Regions from separate parts of the Homo sapiens genome. Here all the other regions are linked to region 2. The links are contacts of gene promoters, found by promoter capture Hi-C in blood cells and fetal thymus (Javierre and others, 2016). All regions are on one chromosome and are shown on one strand. Each heading gives the region's core, a stretch centred on a gene start or on the middle of the fragment in contact. The rest is flanking DNA. Distances are from core to core; before and after follow the strand shown.

The links. The method cuts DNA at HindIII sites, captures the fragments that hold promoters and counts their contacts. A CHiCAGO score of 5 or more calls a contact.
Region 1: a fragment that was not itself captured here is called in contact with the fragment with the promoter of KDM4A-AS1 in region 2 in 1 of 17 cell types (monocytes); the score reaches 6.3 in monocytes.
Region 3: the fragment with the promoter of MED8 here is called in contact with the fragment with the promoter of KDM4A-AS1 in region 2 in 2 of 17 cell types (M2 macrophages and fetal thymus); the score reaches 6.2 in M2 macrophages.

What each region holds. Positions count from the first base shown.
Region 1 is chr1:43,990,648-43,995,349 of GRCh38, forward strand. CCDC24 (coiled-coil domain containing 24) reads left to right here and starts at 952. Exons shown (of 9, transcript NM_152499.4): 1 at 952-1,099; 2 at 1,200-1,357; 3 at 1,565-1,740; 4 at 1,876-1,992; 5 at 3,240-3,317; 6 at 4,461-4,515. The coding sequence starts at 1,232. B4GALT2 (beta-1,4-galactosyltransferase 2) reads left to right here. Exons shown (of 7, transcript NM_003780.5): 7 at 1-521. RefSeq lists silencers at 1,106-1,215, 1,356-1,405 and an enhancer at 4,190-4,484. The HindIII fragment of the contact is 302 bases long and covers 1,888-2,189 here.
Region 2 is chr1:43,705,784-43,710,542 of GRCh38, forward strand. KDM4A-AS1 (KDM4A antisense RNA 1) reads right to left here and starts at 1,558. Exons shown (of 5, transcript NR_033827.1): 1 at 1,276-1,558. ST3GAL3 (ST3 beta-galactoside alpha-2,3-sialyltransferase 3) reads left to right here and starts at 1,753. Exons shown (of 12, transcript NM_006279.5): 1 at 1,753-1,910. It overlaps ST3GAL3-AS1 (ST3GAL3 antisense RNA 1), which reads right to left. Exons shown (of 4, transcript NR_125986.1): 4 at 3,609-3,752. RefSeq lists enhancers at 1,188-1,705, 1,431-1,510 and silencers at 1,641-2,140, 2,171-2,220. The HindIII fragment of the contact is 3,706 bases long and covers 1,296-4,759 here.
Region 3 is chr1:43,386,837-43,391,281 of GRCh38, forward strand. MED8 (mediator complex subunit 8) reads right to left here and starts at 2,964. Exons shown (of 7, transcript NM_201542.5): 1 at 2,923-2,964; 2 at 1,474-1,592; 3 at 667-811; 4 at 22-162. The coding sequence starts at 2,928. SZT2 (SZT2 subunit of KICSTOR complex) reads left to right here and starts at 3,063. Exons shown (of 72, transcript NM_001365999.1): 1 at 3,063-3,159. The coding sequence starts at 3,133. RefSeq lists an enhancer at 1,474-1,613 and a silencer at 3,054-3,383. The HindIII fragment of the contact is 2,691 bases long and covers 2,885-4,445 here.

The DNA of each region.
Region 1 (4,702 bases), core at 789-3,288, 290 kb after region 2:
GTGTGGCCCTCTTTGGAGTCAACCCTCCTTCCCGACCCCCTCCCCCTAGCCCAGCCCCAGTCACTGTCAGGGTCGGGCCAGCCCCTGCACTGCCTCGCAGAGTGGCCTGGGCTAGGTCACTCCACCTCTCTGTGCCTCAGTTTCCCCCCCTTGAGTCCCCTAGGGCCTGGAAGGGTGGGAGGTATGTCTAGGGGGCAGTGTCTCTTCCAGGGGGAATTCTCAGCTCTTGGGAACCCCCTTGCTCCCAGGGGAGGGGAAACCTTTTTCATTCAACATTGTAGGGGGCAAGCTTTGGTGCGCCCCCTGCTGAGGAGCAGCCCCAGGAGGGGACCAGAGGGGATGCTGTGTCGCTGCCTGGGATCTTGGGGTTGGCCTTTGCATGGGAGGCAGGTGGGGCTTGGATCAGTAAGTCTGGTTCCCGCCTCCCTGTCTGAGAGAGGAGGCAGGAGCCCCAGGGCCGGCTTGTGTTTGTACATTGCACAGAAACTTGTGTGGGTGCTTTAGTAAAAAACGTGAATGGAGCAGCTCCCTTGTCTGTTTGGGGGTGGGGGTCGGGTCCCTGAACGTGGTTACCCTGAGTGTGTTGTGGTGGAAGGGCACTTGGGGAACCTGGCCCAACAAGTAAACCTGACCCGGGCCATCCTGGTTCTCCAAGCGCTGCCACTCCCTAGGCTTTCACTGGCCTTAAGGGGAAGTTTGTCCTTGCACTGCTTCCGGGACAGTGGAGGCGACGAAGTAATAAACCCGTGGACCCAGATTTCTCAGGTCTTAACACGTTCCCTGAGGCCTAAAGGTGCCCAGGGCCGAGCCCAAAGTGCTTGGGTCAGGGCTCGGTGGAGCGCCGAGGTGAGTCTGAACTCCCAGCCGGCACGCGCCGCCCGCCGGACCAAACACGGGAGGGGGCGGGGCCCTAGAGTCGCGGCGTGGTTTCCCGGGTGATGGCCACGCGGAAGAGGTGGGGCTAGGGCCCTGGTTCCCACTGCCTGGTTTCTGGGCCCCCGGCATCCGAGTCGGCCAAAAGCCGGGCAGAAGAGAGCGCCAAGGACTGGCAGTTCCGGAACGGGCAATCCCAGCCGAGGGGACCAGCGGCAGAGCACGGGTGGGGCTTGGGAGAGGGCGGGGCCCATAGAGGGGCGGGGTTTGGTGAGCGTTGCCGGCGGGCCCGCGGTACCTCCCGCACTCTGACCTGCGGCCCGTAGGTCCGAGCCGGGGACGGCGGCGTCGGTGGGTCATGCTCCGGCACTCCCCCTCGCTGTGGGAGCTGGTGGAGGAGCACGTTCCGCTCCGGGAGCGACGCGAAGTGAAGAGGATTCTGGGGGAGGCGGCGGTGGACCTGAGCCTGGAGCTGCGGGCGGAGGTGGGGAGAGGGAAGGTGGGCCACGCCCCTGGCCTGCCCCACGACTCGGGTGATTTCCCACCTCTGCGGGTCCCTGGCCCTGCCGGGTAACTCCCGAGATCCTATCCTGGTCTCCCCTTTGACTCCGCCCTCTCCCTCACTCCCCCAGCCCCCACCATTCCGGACACTCCCCTCCCCAGTCGCAAGGTATCCCAGCTCTCCTTGCAGGTGGCGATGTTACGGGCACTGCTCCAAGAGGCTCGATCCTCTCAAGCCCCCAGCTCCCGCCCCATCTCTGACCCCTCTTCTCTTCTGGCACCACCGCCTCTCCTAAAGGACCTCTTGCGCCAGGAGCTCCGGCAGTTGCTCCAGGGTCTCCGCCACAAAGCCATCTGTGAGGGCAGGTGGGAGCCTCAGGCCTGGGCCCTTTCCCTAGATACCAGGTGGGCTAGCGCTGCCCCTAACAAGGAGCCAGGGTTGCCTTTTCTGTGGTTTCCAGAAAGGAGCCTCTCAGCTTCCTTCCTGTGCACCTTCTGCAGGGACCAGGCCCAAGCTTGGGTCCAGTATAGCCCCAGGGTCCTGCACTTTGCCTTGGAGGAGCCCAGGTGTGATTTGCCAGAACAGGAGATATTCCAGATGAGAGGTGGTGGGCCCAGGTAAGGTGATGGTAGGAGAGAGGGATCTGTCCCTGCTTGGCAGAGGGCCCTAGCCCACTGGTGGGTTGCACCTGGCTCCATGCAGGAGATTCCAGTCACGGGCTGGGCACTTCCACCGCCACTTGTGATAGAGATTATCAGCCCATGAGGGCTACTGAAACCCAGAGGAAACACCTGCCTAGCCTGGGGACAGGCAAAGCTTCCTGGAGAAAGTGGTTTGATCTGCGTGTTGTAGTATGAGGAGCAGTTTTCAGGGAGATGAAAGAGAAGAGCTTTGTAGGAAGAGGGAAGAAAGGAAGCCATGTCCAGCAGGCGGTTGTTCCTCTGGCCTAGAGAACAGGAGTGAGGGCTGGGCTAGGGAGGCAGGGAGAGCTGAAGAGGATGGTCACAAATGGTATTTACAGCTGGGACTGAATGAGATAAAATATTCATAAGTGGATGGCAGCAACTTCTTATTCTAATCCTCACACAGCCTGAGGAGGTGGGCAAAATCTCCATTTTGCACAAGAGGAAATTAAAGGCCGGGCATAGTGGCTCATGCCTGTAATCCCAGCACTTTGGGAGGCTGAGGCGGGAGGATGGCTTGAGGCCAGGAGTTTGAGATCAGCCTGGGCAATACAGGGAGACCCCATCTTTACAAAAAGTGAAAAAAAAAATAGTCAGGTGAGGTGGCGCATGCCTGTATTCCCAGCTACTTGGGAGGCTGAGGTGGGATAATTGCTTGAGCTCAGGAATTCGGGGCTGCAGTGAGCTATGATTGCACCTGTGCACTCCAACCTGGGTGACAAAGACCCTGTCTCTAAGAAAAAAAAAAAAGAAGCCTGGGCAACATAGTGAGACCCCATCTGTGCAAAAAAATTGAACAGGCGTGGTGGCACGCACCTGTAGTCCCAGCTACTCAGGAGGCTGATGTGGGAAGAGCACTTGAGCCCGGGATGTCAAGGCTGCAGTGAGCCAAGATGGTGCTACTGCACTCCAGCCTGGGCAACAGAGCACAATCTTGTCTCAAAAAAAAAAAAAAAAAAGGAAAAGAAACTAAAGCTCAGAAGCGATAAGTGATTTGCCTGAAGTCACACACAATGAAGGGTGGCAGAGCTCATTTGCAAACCTAGGCTCCCAAACTCTTACTCTTTGCACTATATTATATTGCCTTTGTGAGAAAAGAAACAGTTGCCTAGAAGTGATATTTGGGTCCTGAAGGCCTGGGGTGAGCAACATGCGGAGAGTGATAGTGACTTCATTGCCAGCAGCGGTCACAGAGATCTCAGCATCATCAAGGACCAACTGAACGTGTCCAACATTGACCAGGTGGCCAGACACCTGAGGTGAGGCCCAGGGGCACCTGCATGTGTATAGGCAGGGGTGGAGACAAGGATGGATCTTGAGGTGCTGGGATTGTGAGACAGGAGGTGGGTAGTATACTTGGCGGGGAGGCCCATGTGCGTAAGGCTGAGAGGTGGAAAGAGCTGGCTGCTATAGAGCTAGTGAGGTTGCTTTCAGGAAGCAGCCAAGTACAGATGCCACGGCCGAGCATGATGGTGCATGCCTATAATCCCAGCAATTTGGGAGGCCGAGGCAAGAGGGTCATTTGGGCCCAGGAATTCGAAACCAGCTTGGCCAACATGGGAAAACCCCATCTCTACCAAAACAAATACAAAAATTAGCTGGGCGTGGTGGTGCACGCCTGTACCAGTTACTTGGGAGGCTGAGGTGAGAAGGGATTGATTGAGCCCTGGAAGGTAAGGCTACAGTGAGTCATGATGGGTGGCAGAGCAAGACCCTGTTTCTTTCTTTCTTTCTTTCTTTTTTTTTTTTTTTTGAGATGGAGTCTTGTTCTGGCGCCCAGGCTGGAGTGCAGTGGCGTGATCTTGGCTCACTGCAAGCTCCACCTCCCGGGTTCACACCATTCTCCTGCCTAAGCCTCCCGAGTAGCTGGGACTACAGATGCCCACCACCATGCCCAGCTAATTTTTTTGTATTTTTAGTAGAGGCGGGGTTTCACTGTGTTAGCCAGGATGGTCTCGATCTCTTGATCTCATGATCCGCCCATCTCAGCCTCCCAAAGTGCTGGGATTACAGGCATGAGCCACCTCGCCTGGCCGACCCTGTTTCAAAAATAAATACCTTGACACAGGGGTAGCCTGTGTCAGAGGATTTTAAGCAGCGGAAGGGCTGTGATGTGGGGGAAGATGGAGGCAAGAAGAATCACAGTGCAGAAGTGTGGGAGAGAGAAGGATGCCTGCCAGGGTGAGGCAGGCGAGGGGAAGATACTTCCTGCCCAGAAAGAGCCTCACAGGGGCCAGACGTCTATGCTGGGTCAGCCCCCAAGCAGCAGAGGGCAGTGTGGGCTGAGGAAGGACAGGTTGGGTGGGGCTCCTGCTGAGGCTGGAGGTTGGGGCCATGTGGTGGACTCAGCTGAGCCCTGGTCCTGTGTCTCGGGTTCTGGCTGCTGCTCCCTCATGTCCCAGGGGCCTTCTGGAGGAGGAGTGTCACACCTTGGAGAGGGAGATCCTCATCCTGCAGGTGAGCCGCAGCCCTGGGCCCTCCCCCGAGCCTCACTGCTGAGCGTAGACTCTCACCTGGGTGAGACCCATGTACCTGTGTGCATACATAGGTGCATGTACAGGCTATGTGAGTCCTGCATCCATTTCTCAGGGGTGCATGCTTGTGTGCACCTGCAAAATCCTGGAGGCCCAGGATTCTAGTTGAG
Region 2 (4,759 bases), core at 308-2,807:
AAGCACCAGACCAATGAGTCCTCTCAACAGAGTATCTCTCACTGCTGCCCCATTTGATACATCTTTGTTGAACTGGCCTAAGTTCATGCCAGCATCTGTGCTCTATACAAATTGTGGAACCAGTGGGAAGGATGGGTGCATTTTAGGTGCTTGAAAAGCAAGGGACTCAACCTCCAGTGGGATCCTCAGATTGCTCTCCGAGCTGTCTAGTTGGTGAGAAGCTTCCCTGGAGGAAGACCCAATCTCCTTTGGCTGGTAGATCCCTGAGGTCAAAGTGGACAAGGATGGGGAACCACAGAGCAGGGAGGGGGGCAATGAATAGGTGCAGGACTTGGGTGCCCCGGAGCTGCACCGGCTGGCCCTTAAACAGCCAGGCACTTCCTGTGGCATGGCCCTGTCCAGGTGCAGGAGAGGCTTAGGTCAGTTCAGCTGCTCTGGATGCTTCCTTGTGTCCCTGGGGGTTGAGAGGTGGTTGCTACTTGGTATCTCATTGTGGAGAAAGGGAGGTGCAGGAGGTGATCTTTTCTATGTCAGCTCCCTCCTGGGGCCCAGGGAGGGAAGTTGGCCTTTTTTTTTCTTTGCCCACACTCCACTTGGGGATTCCCAGGGGATGTAGCAAGGGAGGCTGGGCAGAACCAGGCCTTAGTGGATTGGTGAGAGAACACTAATCCATACATCTTTGGAAGAGAGGAACACTTCACCAGCCTTTTTACACAGGATCCCTACCTTTCTCGATGACCCCACTGCCTCCAGGGGTGGGCGCTGGGTTTAATCCCAGCAGTTTTTACTCAACAGCTGACCAGTTTTCCAGAAACTGCACTTTTTTTTTTTGGTCAACCTAATAACTCTTAGGAAACTGCAACTCAGGTGATCCAAATCACACAGACCGGCCCGTTCTCTCCCCTACTGGCTGCCTATGCAGTCGGGTCGACCTCAAGAGAACTGGCCCCAGCCAAAAGCGGCACCTCCCGGCCTGCCAGTCCCTTCCTGCCTTAGGCAGCTCCTCCCAGAAGCCTTTTTGTAGGGCAAACTGCCTTCCCTTTGTAAGGTAGGGCCTTTGGATCCAAGGTTGCAGTTTAAAGACCACCCCGACTTTGTTGAGGAATTAAGTTTTAAATTCCGCCCCAGGCGGATAACACCAGGGCTCAGCCGCAGGAATGAAAAAGGAGTGGGAGGGCTGCAAAGTGTACGTGGGGCTTGGAGGCCTTGTGCCACGCGCGGACTAAAAATGTTCTACGAGTCTCTTAACGCTCACCCCCGTGCCCCCTTACCCACCAGGGCCCACGGAGGTCCGAAGCTTTCGGCCTCAGTGAGCGGAATGGGTGCGCTCACGACCTGGAGGGCGAGATGAGATGTCCCTCGGCGTGAAGTGGCCGTGACTACCCTAGCACTTTGCGTTCCCCGCGCGGGCGACGAAACACGCTCTCGAGGGGAGAGAGCCGTGCGTCCTCTGGGCCGTGAAGCCAGGGGAAGAGGGTTCCTCTAGACAGCTCGATGTGCCCGGGAGAGACACCCACGCTGAACCTGCAAGCTGGGGTGCTCCACCAGCGCGAACCTCTCGCCCCGCACTCGCCGCAGCACTGCTCTCGTGGTAGGCGGGGTGGGCGGGACGGCAAATCCGCGGCTCCTGCGTCTATTGGGCTGCTCGGGGCAGCGCAGCTCCGCATTGGCCAGGCCCTCGCTCCGCCCGGCTTCCGCGAGCCCATTGGTCGCAGGCGCCCGACCGGGTCGCGGCCGCGCGCTCCGCCCGCCGCTGCGTCCCCACTATGGCGGCGCCCATGCAGCCCAGCGCGTTGTGGGCTCCCGCCGGGGTCCCCCGCGGCTGTCGCCGCCGCCTACGCCGCTGCCTCCGCCTTCCTGCCCCGCGTCGGGCCGGGCGCCACCTCCCCCCTGCCTCCCTCTCCGCTGTGGTAAGGGCCTGCCCAGTGCGCTTCGGGGCGCGATGGCTGACCGCGAATAACGGTCGCCGCTCCGCCCCGCCCCTCCCCCGCCGGCCGCGGGTCCCGGGCTGGGCGGGGCGCGGAGCCCGCGCGCTAGTGCCCGGGAAGGCGGGGTCGGGGCACGGCCCAGTCGTCCTTCGGGCTGGGGGCCCAGTACCTGGATGACCTCTCCTGGGTGGGGGCCGCCGAGCCTGGGGGAAAGGCCGGCCGGACGCAGGCCAGGAGGTCTGAGATCATCTCCGTGTGAAACCCCGCAGCGCTGCGCACCTTGGCGCAGAGCACGGACACCGTCATTCGGGCCCTGCTGTGGGAAAAGGAAAGAAAAGTCCAGGGAGCGCCTGAGCGGGAATCGGCAGCGTTTGGGTAGCGGTTGTCATTGCTTACTGCTCTAGCGGGGGCCAGAACTGGGGTCAGTTTGATCGGCAAAGTACGCCTCTCTTGCTTCCTTTCCTTCTGGCACTTTCCCCCGTTGTGTCCTCGGTGCTTTTGCTTGCAAGAGAAAATATCTTAGTGAGGAGGGCAGGTTTGGTTAGGAGAGTGTCCCATGAACATTTTGGATTCCTTTTTACAACAATGTCCATTTTTATGATTCCTCAGTAAGCCTCATTTATGTTTCCTTCACGTATGAGGAAGGAGTGAAACCTGATAACTGAATGTAATTAATTGAGGGAAGGACCAGTGAAGGCGGCTATTACCTCAGAAAGTAAAATACTCAAACTTTTCAGTGGATGTACTGTGAATTATAGATAGCTGGACATTAAGGTAGGAAAAAACTCTTATTAGGTTACTAAAAGTAAGATAGTCCCCATGACAAATTAGGTTGTTTCTAAGGCAGAATTATCTTGTAGAGATGATCACTGAAATGTTTGGTGTACTTTCAAGTCAACAGAGGATTAAAAGGAAGCTGGCACAGAAATTTATAGCCAAATGATACTTTCAAATAATCTCTTAAGGCAATACAGCTCCTCCTATGATTAGAGATTCTTAAGGATATTTTGAGATATTAAGTGGTGAATCTCTCCATTTCGCGTGTCTAACTGTCTAACCATGGTTTAATAAAAATAAAATGTTAACGATGAAACAAGACATTCATGTTCTCAGAGACTAACAGACTTTGTATCAATCAATGGAACGCCTCTTGAGTACATATTTTATGCAAGGCATTGACTGAGGGGAAACTCAAAACCATTTAAGATAAGAAACTTGCTCTAATGGGCCTATAATATACTTGAGGGAATAAAGCACACACATGACAATGATAACTGTGATATGGTCTCTAGAATTCCAAGATGGTAGGTACTCTGAGAAACCGAGAAAAGGAGAAATCCATGTGTTTGAGGAAGGTTTCACAGGGAAGCTGAGGCTTGAATTGGGTCATGAAGAGTGGGTAGCCGGCTGTATGAAGGGGAAGAAGTGAGCAGATGAGAAAGTGAGGATGACAAAGGTGCAGGGGAACCTGAGATGCTCATGGGTGGTTCCAGGGGGTTTCTTAGCAGAAAAAGCAGGATATGAGGTTGCACAAAAGGTAGGTTGATGGCATTAATCCAAGAGGTACCTTTGTCCTGTGTGGTGCAAAGAGTAAACAAGTAATAGAATTTACTTCAAAGGAAGCTGTAGCTAACTATCAGGAATACAGTAACACTTTACTTGTCATTGTCACTTTTTCTTTTTTCTTTTTTTTTTGAGACAGGGTCTCCCTCTGTCACCCATGCTGGAGTGCAGTGAATGTGGCTCTCTGCAGCCTTGACTTTCTGGACTCAGGCGATCCTCCCACCTCAGCTTCCCAAGTAGCTGGGACCACAGGCAGGTGACCTGGAGAATTAAAAAAAATTTTTTTTGTAGAGACAGGGTCTTGTCATGTTGCCCAGGCTGTTCTTGAACTCCTGGGCTCAAGAAATCTTCCCACCTTGAGTTCGAGACCAGCCTAGCCAACATGATGAAACCCCGTCTCTACCAAAAAAAAAATACAAAAAATTAGCCAGGCGTGGTGGCAGGCGCCTGTAATCCCAGCTGCTCGGGAGGCTGAGGCAGGAGAATCGCTTGAACCCGGGAGGTGGAGGTTGCAATGAGCCGAGATCGCGCCAGTGCACTCCAGACTGGGCAACAAGCGTGAAACTCGGTCAAAAAAAAGAAAGAAAGAAATCCTCCACCTCAGCCTCCCAAAGTGTTGAGAATATATGCGTGAGCCACCACACCTAGCCCATTGTCGCTTTTCTGATTCACCTCAGCTACTTGGAATAACAGTTCTCTCAACCCAGAAGCGGCACCTCAAGTTTATTCTTACTTTTCTTCTTTTTTTCTCCCCGTGTTTTTGGTTGGGTGCCAGGTCTTGTTGACCCTACTTCCACACTGTTTCTGGCATCTGCTTCTATTTTTGAGTCAGAGCCTCCCTCTGTTGCCCAGGCTGGAGTGCAGTGGCCCCATCTCAGCCCACTGCAACCTCCACCACCTGGGTTAAAGTAATTCTCCCGTCTCAGCCTCCTGAGTAGCTGGGACGACAGGCGTGTGCCACCACACCCGGCTAATTTTTGTATTTTTAATAGAGACGGGGTTTCACCATGTTGGCCAGGCTGATCTTGAACTCCTGATCTCAAGTGATCTGCCCACCTTAGCCTCCCAAAGTGCTGGGATTATAGGCATGAGCCACCATACCTAGCCTGGCATCTGCTTCTTTTCACTCCTACTGTCATCACACTGATCTGGGGCCATTGGACCATTCCTGTGAATTACCACAGAAACCCCCTAACATTTTTTTCCTTCCATCCATCATGTGTATTGCCATCACTTCCAAGTTTGTCACTTCTCCAGCCAGGACTTTG
Region 3 (4,445 bases), core at 1,714-4,213, 320 kb before region 2:
AAGGCAGTGACTCAGTCCAACCTGGGCTGCATCTGCACCAATGCGGGCAGCATCTGTCGTCAGTTGCTTCTCCTGTTCTTCCACTTCAGGGTCAGGCTTGGTTCTCAGATGGTCAGGGACTACCTCATGGCTGAAAACAGGCACCCGTCCTTCAGTCTGCCGCTGTAACACACAGATTTTATTGATCCTACTCTGTACTCCAAGAAGATTCTATCTGGCCTGACATAAAGTCCCATCCACAGGCAAACAGTGCATTTTCAAGGAAAATACAACCTGAGACATAATATCTAGTTTGCTAGGACACACTCTCCTTTACTCCATCCTTCATTTTTTGTGTCTTCTCACATCCCTATCTCTACCAGACCTAGGGGCAAATTAAACTATCACTGTCTGCCACGCTTCAAAGACTGGAATAGACAAAGTCACAAAAGGGCAAACTTTGTGGCTTGAGACAGATGTTGGAGAAGAAAGGTATCAGCCTTGGTGACATACCCCTCAGGTTATTACAGCACTATTTGGGAGTGGCTCTCCCGCCTTCAGAAGAACAAAAAGCAAGGCCTCCAAAATTATTTCTAGGCTCTCAGCTAATAACTTAATTTCCCTAAATACTAAAGAAGCCTAAAAAACCCCTTAATTTCCCAAGTTGTATTCTTTTTCTCCTCTTACCATGAGATCTTCATCTCGGTCTGGAGACAACACCAGAGGAATGATGACCTGGTTACGGAACAGCGGTGTTTTTTCATGCTTCAAGACCTTGTTCAGAGTGTTCAGCTGTCCAGAAAGCAAGGCAAAGCTGTCCAGGACAGATGGCCTGGTGGTGGTAACAAGGTGTAAGAATGTTGTACCCCTTCCCTGGGTGGTTCTTAGTAAAATAGTCCTAGTTCCTTCAGGCTAGGAACACTTGGATTCACCTCCAAAAGTCTCATAGCCCTATGACTAGCCTAAGTGGGAACAGACTAACAGGGATGACAGGGCTATGAAAGAGGGACATAGTTTCAGTTTATGAAACAGACGTAGAAAAAACCCAGTTCATTGTTTGAATGGGGTGAGGAACAGTGGCAAAATAGGAACCAGGGCTACACTGTTATAACTAAAACTTCAGAAACCGGGTAAAAGCCTCCTTTCCAGCCTGGAAATAAGATCCACACTTCAGAGTAGGTTGGCTCTAAAAGACTCAGCCACATCTGTGGCAAGAGATCCAGCACGAATAGAGCTGTAGTGGGAGGACCTCCTCACCAGAGAAGTCAAAGGGTAAGAATTGAAAGCTAGAAAGAACTTGGGTTAGGAAACTGAGCATTTCTCTACTTCCTTGCCATGGAATCCACTTGCTAAATGTTAGGAAACCCAGCTCTTTCCAAATCAAAAGATGTTTGCAAACTGATAAATGGTTACATCATTAGAAATGTCCTATTCATCAGGAGGCTAGGCCCCCCCACCCATAAGCCCTTCCTAGCTTGCCCTGGTAACTCTTACCAGGTCAGCCGGCCATACTCGTTCTCCAACTTGCAAATGAAACTCCCCAGAGAGTTCTTCAGATCAGCCACTTGACTCAGCAGTGCATCTAATGATGCCTCAAGCTGCTTCTCCTCTCTCTGCACCAATAGGAACAGGTTGGTCACCCAGATAAACGAGTATGACACATAGAAAGGAGGGCTGGAAAGCCAAGGAGATGGTGTGCAACACCAGTCAGGTAACACAGGATCTCATTGGCATAGGATAGCCAGGTTGTTTTCTATCTTTGGTATTTGGGTTATAGACAGCATCAACCCTGAGACCTTCCAACCTGTTTGCCTGACCCCAAGTCCTTCCACCAACTGATTCCTTTTCCCCATCACCTCCTAATCTATGCCTGGTTTTTCTCTGTGTTAGGTACACCCTACACTCCCTCACTGAGACATTTTCGACAGACCTAATGCCAGGAGATCATTCTCTCATGTGCACCTCTGTAGCACATGCACTCCAGCTTCCTCCATCCTAGCATCTGTGAGCCTGGCTGTCTTGTCAGTCTCTGGGAAATCTGCCTACTCATGAAGACTTCTCTGAACACCAGTCCTGCTCTCCCCTTTCCCTCCCCCAACCAACGACTCCAGCTTTCCATCTGCTCTCATCATTTTGTTTCAACCTTCTCCTTGCTGAATTAATATGCAATCATCTATCTCTGTGTCAATATTCCCGTGCCTCTTTCACAAGCTCAGTCAACCCATTAACATTTATTGAGACTACCAGCTGCAAGAAACTAAGTGACAAATGAAAAACAAAAACCACACATGCTTCTAAGCACTGGACAAACAAATTAAAATGCTGGGGGTCTGCAAAGCATTTCCTTCCCATCGGTGGTCTCCTGTTTTACTCCATTTCTTCACCCTTAACAACTATAGGGCACAGGCTGGGAAGAGGGATGCAAAACTGTCTTGCAAACCTGCCTGACAGAAACTTGATCCCGGGTTCCACCATGGCCTCTGATTATAAGCTGCTTAGCTTTCAGCCATCGCGGCCCACAATTCCCTCACTGCTTGGGCTTCTTTCCAATTAGATCCCCTGCTATATCGGCAACCAACAGCCTCCATCCAGCAGCTTAGGACAGGGCCTGAGCCAACCCACCACCTTCTTGAGCCGTCTTCCTTGGACTGCATCTCAGCCTCCCCGTATTACAACCTAATCCTTTCCCACGCCAAGCAAACAGGTGCTGCCTCCTCCCTCCGGATTTAGCCCGACTGTCTCCTGTCAGGCAAGCTCCACCCCCACCTCTAATCGCCGCCGCTCCCGCTCCAATTAGCCTCGCCCCCCAGCCCACATTCCCTTATCAGCCGTGGGTTCTGCCCTCTCTTCTCAGTCCCAACTCTTCATTCTCCTTAGCCAGCCCACTCTCGGTCCCTGTACCCGAAGCTTGCCAGCCGCTAGTACGCCCAACGCAACTCTCACCTGCATTGCGGCGGCCGAGGCGGCTGCCACGATTTCACTTCCGGTTTTCCAGTCAGCAAACGCCTACGAGAAGGCTTCGTCCACCAATCAGAAAACTGGAACTCGGCCCTCCCACCAACTTCCGGTTCCTGCTGGGTGCCGAGGTAGCGAGGTCAGGGGTCAAGAGTGGAACACCCTCACTGGCCCGGGCCGGCGCGGGAGGGCTGTGTGATGGCCTCGGAGCGCCCGGAGCCGGAGGTGAGGGGCGGGCGGGCGCAGCACTGGGCCCCGAGATCCGAGGGGGAGGGTCCGGCGGGCAGGCGTGGCGTTGGCCTCCTCTAGGTCTGGGGGTGGCCGGGCTGCGTAGCCTCGGCAGGGACCAGCCCAGCCCGGAAGGCCCGACTATGGTACCCCTGCGGACTGTGTATGGGACGCGGTCCGCAGTTTCCTCGGGGAGCTAAAGGAGTAACTGTTCGCTTTGTTTTGTTTACTGACATGTCACCCGCGTCGTCGTCTCTAAGACTTATAGCGGTGTTAACAAAACTTGTATTTTGACTTTCTGTTGCAGTTTCAATGGGCAACACGGCAGTAGATTTACTTTGCTGGTTTTTGCATTTCTTTAGGCATTGGAATACCATAAACAGCATGAATTTATTTAGTTCTAGGGCTCATGCTTTTAGAAAAGCAGCTTTAATTTCATGAAAAAAACATTTGAGTCGGACTGAGACCTCGTTCCAATATTGGCGCTGTCATGTAGCTAATCTGTGCAACCTCAGGCGAGTCTTCCCGGATCCTGTTTCCTTCTTTATAAAATATCTGTCTTATAGTGTGTTGTGAGAATCACATGTAATAAACCAGAAAGGTGATATGATATATTCGTTAAATGCTAAGGAACATGCAAGGAACCTTATATATGTTGTGTCATTCAGACTTGTGCAAGGAAGGTGGCATTCTCACAGAGGAGAAAACTGAAAAATGAGAAAGATTTAGTACCTTACTCAAATGCCACTCATCCAGGAACTAGCAGTTTGGAGTTAGAAGATCTGAGCTTAAAATCTCAGATTCGGATAAAACACCACCACCAGGAAAGGTGCCAACATATCAGTAGGTGGGAAGGGTGAGAGATGTGTATAATGATAGAAATAGTATTCATTACTGCATACATACTGCATGCTCAGTACCATTCTAAGCTCTTTACCAATATCAGTTAATCCTCAGCCCTATGAAGTGGACACTGTATCATCTCCTTTTTTTAGTTTAGGAACTGAGGCACAGAGATATTAAGAGTAACAAAGTAAGCCGGGCGCAGTGGCTTACACCTGTAATCCCAACACTGGGAGGCCGAGGTGGGCAGATCACCTGAGGTGAGGAGTTCGAGACCAGCCTGACCAACATGGAGAAAGCCTGTCTGTACTGAAAATGCAAAATTAGCCAAGCATGGTGGCGCAGGCCTGTAATCTCAGCTACTCGGGAGGCTGAGGCAGGAGAATCGCTTGAACCCGGGAGGTGGAGGTTGCGATGAGCTGAGATCATGCCATTGCACT